Linked DNA regions of Homo sapiens: region 1 is linked to region 2. Evidence: promoter capture Hi-C in human tissues and cell types (Jung and others, 2019). All regions are on one chromosome and are shown on one strand. The core of a region is centred on a gene start or on the middle of the fragment in contact, and the rest is flanking DNA. Distances in the headings are between cores, read along the strand shown.

Evidence for each region. The method cuts DNA at HindIII sites, captures the fragments that hold promoters and counts their contacts. A contact is called where the count stands out against the background at its distance.
Region 1: a fragment that was not itself captured here is called in contact with the fragment with the promoter of ERCC8 in region 2 in 1 of the 25 tissues and cell types used here (dorsolateral prefrontal cortex).

Annotation. Positions count from the first base shown.
Region 1 is chr5:61,351,851-61,357,994 of GRCh38, forward strand. The region is part of intron 1 of ZSWIM6 (zinc finger SWIM-type containing 6); the gene reads left to right. Among named protein-coding and RNA genes, the nearest start is that of ZSWIM6, 23 kb to the left of the region's middle. The HindIII fragment of the contact is 6,044 bases long and covers 102-6,144 here.
Region 2 is chr5:60,940,156-60,946,698 of GRCh38, forward strand. ERCC8 (ERCC excision repair 8, CSA ubiquitin ligase complex subunit) reads right to left here and starts at 4,915. Exons shown (of 12, transcript NM_000082.4): 1 at 4,777-4,915. The coding sequence starts at 4,853. It overlaps NDUFAF2 (NADH:ubiquinone oxidoreductase complex assembly factor 2), which reads left to right and starts at 5,050. Exons shown (of 4, transcript NM_174889.5): 1 at 5,050-5,227. The coding sequence starts at 5,101. RefSeq lists an enhancer at 5,686-5,815. The HindIII fragment of the contact is 9,089 bases long and covers 2,864-6,543 here.

The DNA of each region.
Region 1 (6,144 bases), core at 1,874-4,373, 410 kb after region 2:
TGTACACACATGCATGTGTAAGAGTGGACTTTGTGTATGTATAAGAGTGTTAATCAGCTTGCAAACTTTAGACAGGCAGGGCTCAGCTCTTAGAATCTATATTGCAGCCAGGATGGTGTTGTTCATACCTACCCTGTGCAGAACCTTCAGTGGCGTCCCTTTGTTCAGAGGCCTGAAGTCATTCATGGGTGTACAAGGCCCAGCATGGTCTGGCCTGGACCCTCAGCCACCTTCTGCACAATGTCCTCTCCTGCCTTTCAGATGTGTCTAGGCTGCCCTGCTACCTGCCTTTGCCTATGTTCTTTTTTCTGTCTGGAATGCTCTTCTGTGCTTGGTTCATGCCCTAATTGTCATCTTGGCTCAGAGAAATAATCCTGGCAACAAATTACCTCCTTTGAATCCTAATCATAGTTTTTTGTGTGATTTTTCTTTTTTGGATTGTCCTCTCCCATGAGATTGTAGGCTCCAGGAGAGCAGAAACTGTAAATATGTGTGTGAATATGTATATGTACATCTGTTTGTATCCATGGCTATCAGTATAACCATTTGCACATAGTTGTCTCTCAATAAAAGTTTGTTGAATAAATGGATGAAGGAAGTGGTGTTTTACTTTGGGAATATTTTCATAACTCTCCAGGAGGAGGCATTGCTTTTATTCAGTGGTTCCATCTATCTATTGCTTCACACCCATCACACAAAGAATATGCCAGTTTGAAAAATACAGCCTAGTTTTGTGTGTTTGGCTACTTTGGGCCACTCCCAGATTTTCCAAAGGTACACTTGCATTCACCTTTATGGTTAGAGGCACTTTCTTAGAATCTGAGTTTAAGAAACGGTATGCTATTTTAATTACAGTAAGTACTTTATCAAGGTCAGTTGTCTTAGAATGTGGATTTATATGACATAGTCTCTAATACATTCTGTTTGGCATGTATTACAGGGAAAAACCAAACAGTCCTGTTTGCAGCCAAAGATTGCAAGATGGTGGTAGGTGTGTAGTTAGAGCACGAGACTTTCTTTTGCTCACATGCATAGGTCAGTTCTCTTCTTTCCTGTCTTGTCAGTTCTCTTGGATGAGCAACTGTGTTTGGTCATGGGGGCAAGGCACTGACCTTGGAGCTCATGTGCAGGTCACTGTGGGCCATAGCAAGTCTGCCTGAACTTTTTTTTCCCCGTCTGTTGATCTGTGCATTCTTGCTTATGCTTGAGCTTTTTTTCAGTTTGTTTTTAATCTTTGCTTCCTCAAGTTAACATAAGTAGCAGGGTAGAATGATCTGCCACATGAAAGTCATTTCTGTCTCAAAGTGGTCTTGGAGAAACCTGAAATTTTTCAGTGTCTTGTTTGGGATGAGGATTGGGATGAGCTCTCATTTGAAACACATTTATTTGCCATTTTATATTGTTGCAGCTCAACATATTGACCACCTTTTGGGTAGTACCAGTTCTGTGCTTTACAAGCATGATTTCTAGCTCTCATAACAACTTTGAGGAGAAGGTATTCTCATTCTAAGGCTGAGGAAACAGATATGTTAAGTCACTTGTCAGGAGCATCTGGGAAGTCTGTGCTGGACTTGAACACCTAGGCCTCCCAGCTCTCAAGTGGGATCATGTTGTACTTTGTTTTCCAAGTGTTGCTAGAGGCAGCTTGTCTTTTTGCACATGTGTCATTCACAGTCCTCCTTGGTCTGTGATACCATTCAAATATAGTGGCCTGACCTCTGAGCAGTGTTTCACTACTTCTGAATGTATTATGTTTTATTTTTTTCTCTTTGATAAGTAGTAATGGATGTGTAACCCATTCACGATATAGTACCTTCTTGTTCCTTGGAGCTGATACTACACTCAGTTGAGGGTGACTTTTTCTTTGTTGGACATTTACAAATAATTTCAGTCACAACATTTAGTGACATAAATACTTTGACTTGAAACAATTACCATTTTCTCGATTTTTAGTGGGAGACTGGGGCAATGTGTGTAGGACATCCTTCAGAAACAGATGAGTATAACAAGCTGTGTGAGGCAGTAGAGGTGCACACACCTCAGTTACTGGAAGGCACAACTTCGAGTTCTTGTGGATTGTGTTGGCAGCCCTGTAGATAGATTCAGCAGATGCTGTAGACATTCTCTTACTACCGAATTATAGCTTAAAGACCTAACTCTTAGAGCAAGCCTTAAAATGTGCTTTCCCCGCTTTGTTTTAGGAAACTCTTCTGTTTGCTGATGAGGAAAGGTTATCTTTCCAGGCAGCATCCAGGAATGGTCTTTTGAATGTCTTCATGCCTTCTTGTGACCTCATTCCTGCTGCCATCGTACTTATCCCTGCTCAGATTAACTGCCTGCGTGTTCAACTTTATTCCATAGTTGGATCTACCTGTAGCATTTGCAGCTTTCTGTGTAGACTGGGCACAAGTTAAAAGCTTAGGAAGTCTATATAACTCACCATAATTTTAGCACTTTAACTTATTAAGGTACATGTTTTGGTTATCTGATTTATAGAAGTACCATGTAAAAATCCACCTATGCTGTACAATTGCTGAAATACTGAGTAAGCTCTGCATTTTATGACCAAGTTATAGGATGAATAATTACTCTCTGGAGTGAATGGTTCAAAATGAAATAACTGTATGCCTTAGGTGTGACGTGACACGAGATGTATTTAAGCCCCAAAAGTATGTAATTATCACACTACTCTTGCATAGACACACAAGTACATTTTTGCTTATGGCAAGAGTTTTATGTGCAAAAGAAAACTCACTTTCTGGTAAGCGAAGGAACAGTCCATTATTTTTGAGGGGTTCATAAGTTGTTTGGTATTAGAGGCTCCATTTCAATCCCCCTGCATTTCTTTAGGGTCTAATTTAAATTCATACATCACTTGATTCTAGAGTAAACCATTATCATACCCTGGATTTTGAATATTAAGGACAGTTGAGGGAGTTTCTCAAAGCACCATTTTATGACTTATAGTCTGCCTCTGTATTCAGTGACTTATTATATATTCCATTCTTAGACTGCATTTTGATCATCAACTGTATTAAGGCAATATATGTTGTACTTTATTTTACTTTCTACTGAAAGTAAGAGCTATTTTGTAGTCTATTTAGATTTTTAATTTTATAATCTGGTCTCATTTTACAGATCATGAGTAATTAAAGGTATCTCAAGCTGATTTGTCCTGTTTTTAATTCAGTATTAAAGTATTATTTTAATCACATTAAAAATGTGACTGATATTTTTTGTTTATCACAATTCTACTAGCCCCACTGAGTAACTGCTGCTGTTGAATTAGTGATGGGGTTATATCAGTTTCCCTTGTCAAAGGACCAGATACGTCAGCTTGGGTATTTAGCTTGGTAGTTGTGACTTAGTTTTCTGTTCTCAAGCCCAGGAGATGAGAATTCCTTATTCTGGGTGCCAGTGGAGGCCTACAGTGGCTCCTGGGTGTTCCTTTGGGCTAGAGAAAGTCAAGTTGAGATGCCCCCGGCTTTCAGACTAGAAAAATAAATAGCAGTGATGGTATTGATGTAGCTAAGTGATGTAGCTTACCTGTTTACAGTGCGAATCTCTTGAGAGACTTTAAAACACACACACACACACACACACACACACACACACACACACACACACACACACACACACACACACACTATTAGATGGCAGGAGCCAGAATGTTAACTTAGTTTTGTAACTAAGTGTTAGAGAACAATACATTTAAAGCTTTAAACTTTTAAAAAATATAATTTACAAGTAATTTGTAGAAAAGGATAGTAGATTGCTACCATTATGCTAAATATCAATCTGTTCAGTAAAGAGACTGGCAAATTTTAATTCATCTATAATTTTGCTGTCTGATGTGGTAGCCATGTGGCAGGCTGGAATTGAGATTACTGAAAGTGTAACACATGCACCAGAGTTTGAAGACTTAGTGCAATAAAAAGAATGTAAAACATTATGAACAATTTATTGAAATGATAATATTTGTGTTAAAAGTATTATTAGAATTAATTTAGCCTGTTTATTTTAATTTTTAAAATGTGACTACTAGGAAATTTAAAATTACATAGTGGCTTCATTATTTTTTAATTAGTGCTAGTCTCTAGGCCCTTTGGTCTCATAATAAGTTCTTTCTGTTTATGTATACAATTCAGTTATGATTTGATTACATACTTGATTTTAACTTTTTGCCAGCATAAATCTAAACACTGTAGTGATTCTTAAACCTTAGTTTCAAAACACTGTGTGTGTGTGTCTGTGTGTGTGTTTCGGCAGAGATGGAGCCTTGCTCTGTTGTCCAAGCTGGAGTGCAGTGTCAGAATCATAGCTCACTGCAGCCCCGAACTCGGGTTCAAGTGATCTTCCTGCCTCAGCCTCCCAAATAGCTGGGACTACAGGTGCACGCCACCATGCCCAGCTTCAAACACTTTTTTTAAGTTGCCCTTCACATTATTTGAGACTGTTTTTTATCTTAAATTTTAAGGCAGAAGAACCATCTGCCAATTGATTATTTTGTAGGTTTCAGACTTCATTGGCTGAGTTATTTACAATGAGTTAGAATTCATTTTATTTTCGTAGAAGTTCAGTGGGTTGGTTATGATATTTGGGATTTTATTTCTGGTAAAATACAATGAATGCTATTAATGAAATTATTGAAAGTAAGGGCAAAAACTGCAATTACTTTTGCACCAACCTAATATATTTACTTTAAAAAATCATTCCTTTGGACTTGGCTGTGAAAATTAAAAAAGAGAAAACCCTCATTCCTTAAAAACGTTGGCTTTTATAGTAATAAGCTGTCTTACAGGTTTGATATATATATAATATATATAACATAATATATAATATACATATTTTATATATATAATATATATAACATAATATATAATATATATTATATATATATATTATATATAATATGTATAATATATATATAAATATTTTATATATAATATAAATATATAATTGATAAATAAAAAATATATATTTTATATATAATTATGTAATATATATAATATGTATATAGTGTAAAGACAGAAGAAGTATGGGTTTTCTTGAGTTTCAGTGTTTCTTGGATTTTACTATCCAGTTTATAAAAAGGAGGAGAAACAGACCAACGTAAGATGGTCAATTCTTTGTTTTTTGTAGTATTTTTCAAAATGTAGTCTCCGGTTCAATAGCATCATCATCACCTCTTAATTTGTTAGAGATACACATTCTTGGGCTTCACATAGACATACTGACTGGGAAACTCTGGAGATGGGGCCTAGCATCTGGGTTTTAATAAGCATTCCAGGTGATTCTGATACGCACAGAACCACTGGCCTAATGTAGTGGTCAGGGTCCACCCAGGAAAAGAGAAACTACCCTTAAGTTTTTGAAACAGGAATTCAGTGCAGGGTATTGGTTATTCAGGTTATGCAGCTGAAACAGCAAGGTAGATTGAATGATGAGGGCTTTTAAAGCAGCACGAAAATAATACACAAAGATAATACAGTCACTAGGGTTAGGCTATGGGAATTTAGGAGCCAGGGTTCACCTCAGGAGACTGAAACCTCCTGGTAGGGGCAAGTAGGAGCTGGAGCCATGGAAGCAATGCAGCCATTGCTGGAAACACTACCTAAAGAAGAGATGGAAGGAGTGGGAGAAATGTTGTGAATCCTTCCTTCTCACCTTCCAGTTTTGCACCAGTGCCTCTTGTAGACTGAACCCAGAGAAAAGCCAGCTGATCTAGTAGCCTGAGAAATGGGGTCTGGCAGTGATCAGCTCACTTGAGATATAGAGCTCTCAGAGTGTATCTGTGGGTAAACACACCCAGAACTGGCTCATGTAGTAATTACAGTTTAAAACAAAACATTCTAATATAATTAAAAAATAATCTCAGAATAGAAGACAGTCTTCTTAATGGAATAATCATAGCTTTATGAAAACTAAACCATCCTTTTATAATTTCTCTGTTGGCTAGGGAAATGTTTTCACAAGTGTCTGTAAATTTGGAAACCTTACCTTACACCTTTGAAGGATTAAAAAAAAAATTTCCTGTTTACTCCAGGACCTGTTTTAGCCCTACTCTTCCTAGTTGATGAGTTACCAAGCTGTCCTTGGTTGTTAGCGCCATCTTATGGCAGACGTGGGAAAGTTGCCTCCTCA
Region 2 (6,543 bases), core at 3,665-6,164:
TAATTTCATTCATTATTCAATACTTCAGTTCTGGGTAATACTACTATAAAAACTAAACAAAATGCAGAGACAGCTACTTGAGGACTCTGAAAAGTAAACAGCCACAGACAATCCCATGACAGAAATGGCTATGGCTACGCATAGTGGCCTGCAGAAGCCAGAACTCTGAGGAAGGGAAATTGTTTTCTCTGTTCATCAGAGTCCCGATCCCAAGAGGGTAGGGACAATCCCTGTTGTTTATTGCCTCTCTTCTCACTTCTGAGCCCAGACTTGGGCCTAAACTTGGAAGCGTATGGCAGAACAGGGTAACTGAACCCTAAAGTTTCTGGCTAGATGGCCAAAACAGGGAGTCCCAGAGAACTGGGAAGCATCCAGGAGATCACAGAGAAGAAGGAGCTCAGGAAAGTGATCCCATAAAGTTGTTTATAAACTCCAGAACTCATCCCTGAGTGAGGCATGCATAGATCTAACCCTGAGTCGTATACAAAGGATTTTGAAAATTGAGCTAATCACTCAGGTCACAGTCTGACCATTGAATGGCATACACCTGGGGAAGATCTGAAGAGACTTTGAAAACTGAGCTAACATTAAAACTACAGTCCATAAGTAGGTAGGTTCTTGTAGCCTGAACCTAATCTTGCTAATTAAATGTTAAAACAAAAATATCAACATTCTTCATAGGATCAAAACAAGACCCAGAGTATTCAAAATGTCCAGGATGCAAATCCAAAATTTCCCTGCATATAAAGAACCGTGAAAATTTCAACTTGCATGGGAAAAGACAAACAAAACAAGCCAAAGCTGAGATGACACAAGTGTTGAGATTATCTGATAAAGACTTCAAGGCAACCATTGTAAAATGCTTGAACTTGAGCAACACTGGCATGGTGGCCCGAGCCTGTAATCCCAGTGACTCTTGTGAAGCTGAGGCAGGGGGACTGCTTCAGCCTAGGAGTTCAGGACCAGCCTGGGCAAAACAGTGAGGCCTCATCTCTAAAAATAAAAAAAAAGCTTGAGTAAGCCATTGTGCACACACTTGAAACAGATGTTAAAACAGAAAGTCTCAGCAAAGAAATAGAAGACATAAATAAAAGCCAAATGGAAATTTTAGTTTTCAATATAAAATTATTTTAACTTAATGTATTCACTAACAGATTGGAGATGGCAGAGGAAAAAATCTGTGAACTTGAAGATAGATCCATTAAAATTATACAATCTAACAATATAGAGGAAAAAAGATCGAAGGGAAAAAGAACAAAGCCTTAGGGATCAGAGGAACAATTATAAAAGGACTAACATTTTTGTCATTGGAGGTCTAGAAGGAGAAGAGAAAGAGTGTAGTGTTGAAAAAACATTGGAAAAAATGGCTGGAAAGTTCCCAAGTTTATGGAAAGATATAAGTCTACAAGTTCAAGAAGCAGAATGAACCCTAACTAGGATAAATCCAAAGAGATCTGCAACCAGACACATCATAATTAAACTGCTGAAAACTAAAGACGAAGTCTTCAAAGCAACCAGAGAAAAATGATAAATTACCTATAGGAAAACAATGATTTGAATGGCTGCAGATTCCTTTTCAGAAACCATTAGACCTACTCTAAAAAAATTGATAAACTATATTCTTCAGAGACAAGAAAAAGATATAAGAAGGAAATTTGAGGCATCAGGAATAAAGAGACAGCAACAGAAATAACTATCTGGTTAAATATAATGGCTACTTTTTTCCTTAAAATATGATTGATGGTTGGAAAAAATTATAATGTCTGATAGAGTATATAATGTATGTAAATATAAAATATAAGACAACAATATATATATGGTGCAGGGGAAAGGGTGATAAGGTTTCTATATGCCAAATGAAGCAGTAAAACAATGAAATGATCCGAAGTAGACAACGAAAAGTAAGTATTTTATAATTCCTAGAGCAGCCACTAAAGAATTATACAAAAAGATATAGTCAAAACCATAGTATATAAAATAGAATACTAAATAATGTTCAAACAGTCAAATGAAAGCAGGAAAGGGGAAACATAAATATGGAGCAGCTAGCACTCTCACCTATTAGTGGTGGGACTGGAAAATGCTTTTGGAAAACTGTCAGTTTCTTAAAAAGTAAAGGATTTATCTAGTAGCTCCACTGTTATGCATTAACTTCAGAGAAATAAAAGCATATGTTCATACAATGACTCATACATGAATTTTCAGAGCAGCTGTAAATGTATTAGTCCTGAACTGGAAACAACTCAGATGTCCATCGACAAGTGACTAGATAAACTGTGGTATATCTGCACAGTGGGATACTCCACAGCAAAAAAAAGGAATTGATACATGCAATAACATGGAGAAATTTCAAAATAATGTAATTATGCTGAGTGAAAGAAGCCAGACAAAAAAGATTCCATTTATATAAAATACTAGATATGCAAACTAATCTATAGTGACCTAAAGCAGATTAGTAGTTTCTAGAGAAGGAAGAGGGTAAAGCAGAGAAAGAAGGGAGACAGGGATTATAAATGACCGTCAAAAATTTTTTAGGGTTATGGATGTTCTCTTGATTATGGTAATGGTTTCAAAAGTAAATATATGTCAAAATTCATCAAATTGTATATTCTCATTTAATGTGCAGGGTATTGCATGTCAATTATACCTCAATAAAGTTGTAAAATGTTTTTTTAGAGGGTGTAAACTGTGAACACTGCATATCAGTGTTCATCCTTTTGCTCTTACATGATGACAAGGAAGAACAGTAGACATCTCCTATGAATAAAATGGAACTATATAATTGTTTAAGCAAAAACATCACTTAATGATGGAAATATTTTTAAAAAAATTTTAGGCTGTGTGGTAGCTCGCACATATAATCCCGGCACTTTAGGAGGCAAAGGCAGGAGGATCACTTCAGCCCAGGAGTTCAAGACCAGAATGGGAAACATAGGGAGACCCCATCTCTACGAAAAATTTAAAAATTAGCTAGGTGTGTGGGCACATGTCTGTGGTCCCAGCTACTTAGGAGGATGAGATGGGAGGATCATTTGAGCCTGGAAAGTCGAGGCTGCAGTGAGCTGTAACTGCACCACTGCATTCCAGCCTGGGTGACAGAGCAAGACCCTGCCTCAAAAAAAAAATATTTTTTTAATTTTTAAATACTTTATTTGTCTTAAACGTATAAGCAATCCTCACTTGGCACAGTCTGATATGAATTTCAGTTACCACAGTTTATTAACCGTGAGAAATAGCATAAAAGTTTGCTACTAGCTTTTCAGTTCACAAATCATTACATAAATAACATATGAATCAAAATTGACCAATTTGCAATTTTACTTCTTTCAAAGTCTATGGGTGATTGGTCACTGTGCATCTGTTATTCAGTTCACACACAGGCTGCAAAGCATGGAGGTTTGTTATTAATATTTCTGTGCCCTTGAGATAAACCCACATGGAATTTTACAGATTAAAAGAGGAAATTGGCCAAAAGAATGAAAGTGCACTAAAGAAGAGTGATAATACTAGAAGTGAAACTTGCATTAAACATAAATGGAGCAAATGAAAAAAAAGCTGCCTGTGGGAACATGCTGATTGTGGCAACAATGACACTGCCGCCATTTGAGACATTCTAGATATGCAGACTGAGGAAATCAGTGAAGGTGAACTTATAGACATAAATGAGGAAAAGTGATTGTGATGAAAGGCTGATGATGTGTCAGAGGAAGTGACACTGGCAAAAAAAACACATTAAAGGAACTCTCAGAGATATTTCACAACATTGAAAACGTAATGGATAAAATGTTGGAAACTAATATTTAAATTTCTCCAGAACGCAGAACTCATAAGCAACTGTGTTCTCCAAGTAAATATCTTCACAGGTTCCTCAATTAATGTGGGCAAAATTAAAAGTACAACTTGCTTCTTCCCTTTGGAAAACCCTCTCTCAGAGTATATTACCAACATTCAACTTCTTATACAAGGCATAGATCTGGGAATCATTATTCATTCTTCTCTTTTTGTCATTCACGTATCCACTCAATTTCCATGGCCTGTTGATTCTATTTCTCAGACGTTGTTCAAATCTCTCCACTATCTTTATTCTACTTGGCAACTCTGTGGCCCAGGCTTCCAACAACTCTCTCCCGGACAAGTGTAATCACAACAGTTACCTAACTTGGCTCCCACTCTTGTTCTCAGTTGCAACCCATTCTCCAAGCAGAAAACAAAATGCAATAGCTGTTACCTTATTCTCATCTTCACACCTCTACTCAAGTACACAAGGCTCTTCCTCATCTAGTTTCTGTCTACTTCATCTCTTGTCAATGGTCCCTACCCCAATTCTCCGCTCTAGTCATTCTGAACTTTGTTCAATTCCTGGCCTGTGTCCTCTGCCTTTAATAGGCTGCCTGGCACACTGTAGGAATTCACTAAATATGCAGACTGAATGAATGAACGAGTCCGTGGAGGGCAGTTATTCTTTGGAGTAACTTAAGAGAGAAGGAATACAGTACAACGAAGTATTCTTATTTAGGTTTATAGTGTCTTCACCTGAGCCCGCGGGGGAACCCCCCCCCCACCCCCGGGGAACCCCCCCCACCCCCGCCGCCCCCCGCCTGCAAGTTGTTACCAGTAAATAAAAGGGATCCTATTTTAGCAAGCCACACAGCATTAGAGGGCAAATAATAGTTTGGTGGCAGGAGAGCGATGAGACGGGAAAGTGTGGGGCAAAGCTTACAGTCATTGGTCCAGATTCTAACTGGCCTGTTAGCCAAAAAGTAAGGTTTTCTTTACCTCCGTGTTGACTCTGCTCTCCGAAGGCGAAGAGGGTCCTCCAAACCCGTTTGGCGTGCGGACAAAAACCCCAGCATATCGTGTCCTCACACCGGCTGGAGCACTGGACGTCGCCATGACAGAGCTCAGGGGCGGGACTGGAACAGCAGAGTCTCCCATTGGTCAGTCGGTGATATATCCGGCCAATGGTGAGCGCCGTTACTAGAAGGGCTCCAGGATGGAGGCCGACCTGACTTCTCCGCCTCGGTGGGCTGGGTCGGCGGCTGGAGCATTACCCCTACTGCGGGTCCCGCTGCTGGCAGCGCTGGAAACTGGGTGGACGGCATGGGTTGGTCTCAGGATTTGTTCCGCGCCTTGTGGAGATCGCTGTCAAGGGAAGTGAAGGAGCACGTGGGCACGGACCAATTCGGGAACAAATACTACTACATCCCGCAGTACAAGAACTGGAGAGGTGAGGTGGCGGCGTGGGCAGCGATTGCGTGGTCAGTGATTGCGAGGTCAGTAAAGGAGGGAAAAGTGAGAGCCCCTAGTCAACTAACGCATCATGCGACACTTAGGGTGTCACCGGAGAGAATTTCCCGAGTTCGTTCTCCCCTGTCGACCCCTTCACTCTGGCATCGGAGCCCTACCCGGCCCGGCTCTGGGCGCCTTGGCCCGGCCTCGTGCGTCCGCGGTCCCTACTACCCAGCGCCTTCCCCCGGCGTGCCCCGGGCTGCTTGCGCTGTTAAGGCGCACCACCACTTTCCTCCCAGCCACGCCTGTAGAGGAGCCTCAGTTTTAGCCCTGGACTGGCGACGGAGGCAGGGAAAAGTCCACGGAAATCTTTCACCAAAGGGGCTAGAAGGGCCAGGGGAGGGGTTTTTCGTACGCTGTTCCCCGCCTTGTGACCCAGAGCTGAGTGGTGTAATTGAAGAGGAGTATCTTCAGCGCCTCGGCTGTCTTCTTTCTTGGTGTTTACCCTTTTCGGTGGCACCCTGGCTCCGGCGCTGGCCCCATGCGCCTTCCTTACTACCAAGACTTGTCAGAAGTAGGTCCATATCCCCACAAGGCTCGCTGATTCCTTTCTCGGGAGTTGACATTCCAAGACCCCGTTGAGCTCAATTTAAGAAACGTGGCAATAATCATGGTGTTACTGTGTAGGATTCGTGCCAAGTAGTTGAGCGGGTTGTTTGGGGAGTAAGGAGGCGTTGCTGTCCATTGAAATCACACTGTGTAGCCGCCGTCGTAACCTCTTCTGTGTTGTTCCATCGCCGCATGCAGAAAATGTCAGGTTTTGGGCGAAGAGGCGTGGGTTAGAATCTCAGCTTTGACACCTGATAGCTCGGGAATCACGGAAAAAGTACTTGTCCTCTCCAAGTCTCAACATCCTCACTTGAAAGTTAGAGATAATATAAGATCAGCAATGTTGAGAAGCACTAAGACCTTTCCAAGATTATGTGCCATTCATTTCCCACACATATAAAATGTATTCTGTGATTTATCACTCAATTAATTTATTTTTGCCTGGCCTTTTTCTGTAACTTATTTTAATATTTAGACTTGTTTCCCTAATGAGCTCCTCTGTCAGGCAGGGAATATGTCTCACAAAAAAAGAAAAAAGCCTGCAAAGAACATAGCATGGTGTTAAGTATTTCTTGACAGGTTGCAAGCAGAGAGATGTTTCTTTTCCATAAGTTGTCAGTAAAATTAAAAATATGCAAACTGTCAGACTGAGTTTTTTTAAATTGAAATATAATTTACATACAGTAACATTCACCCTTTATGGTG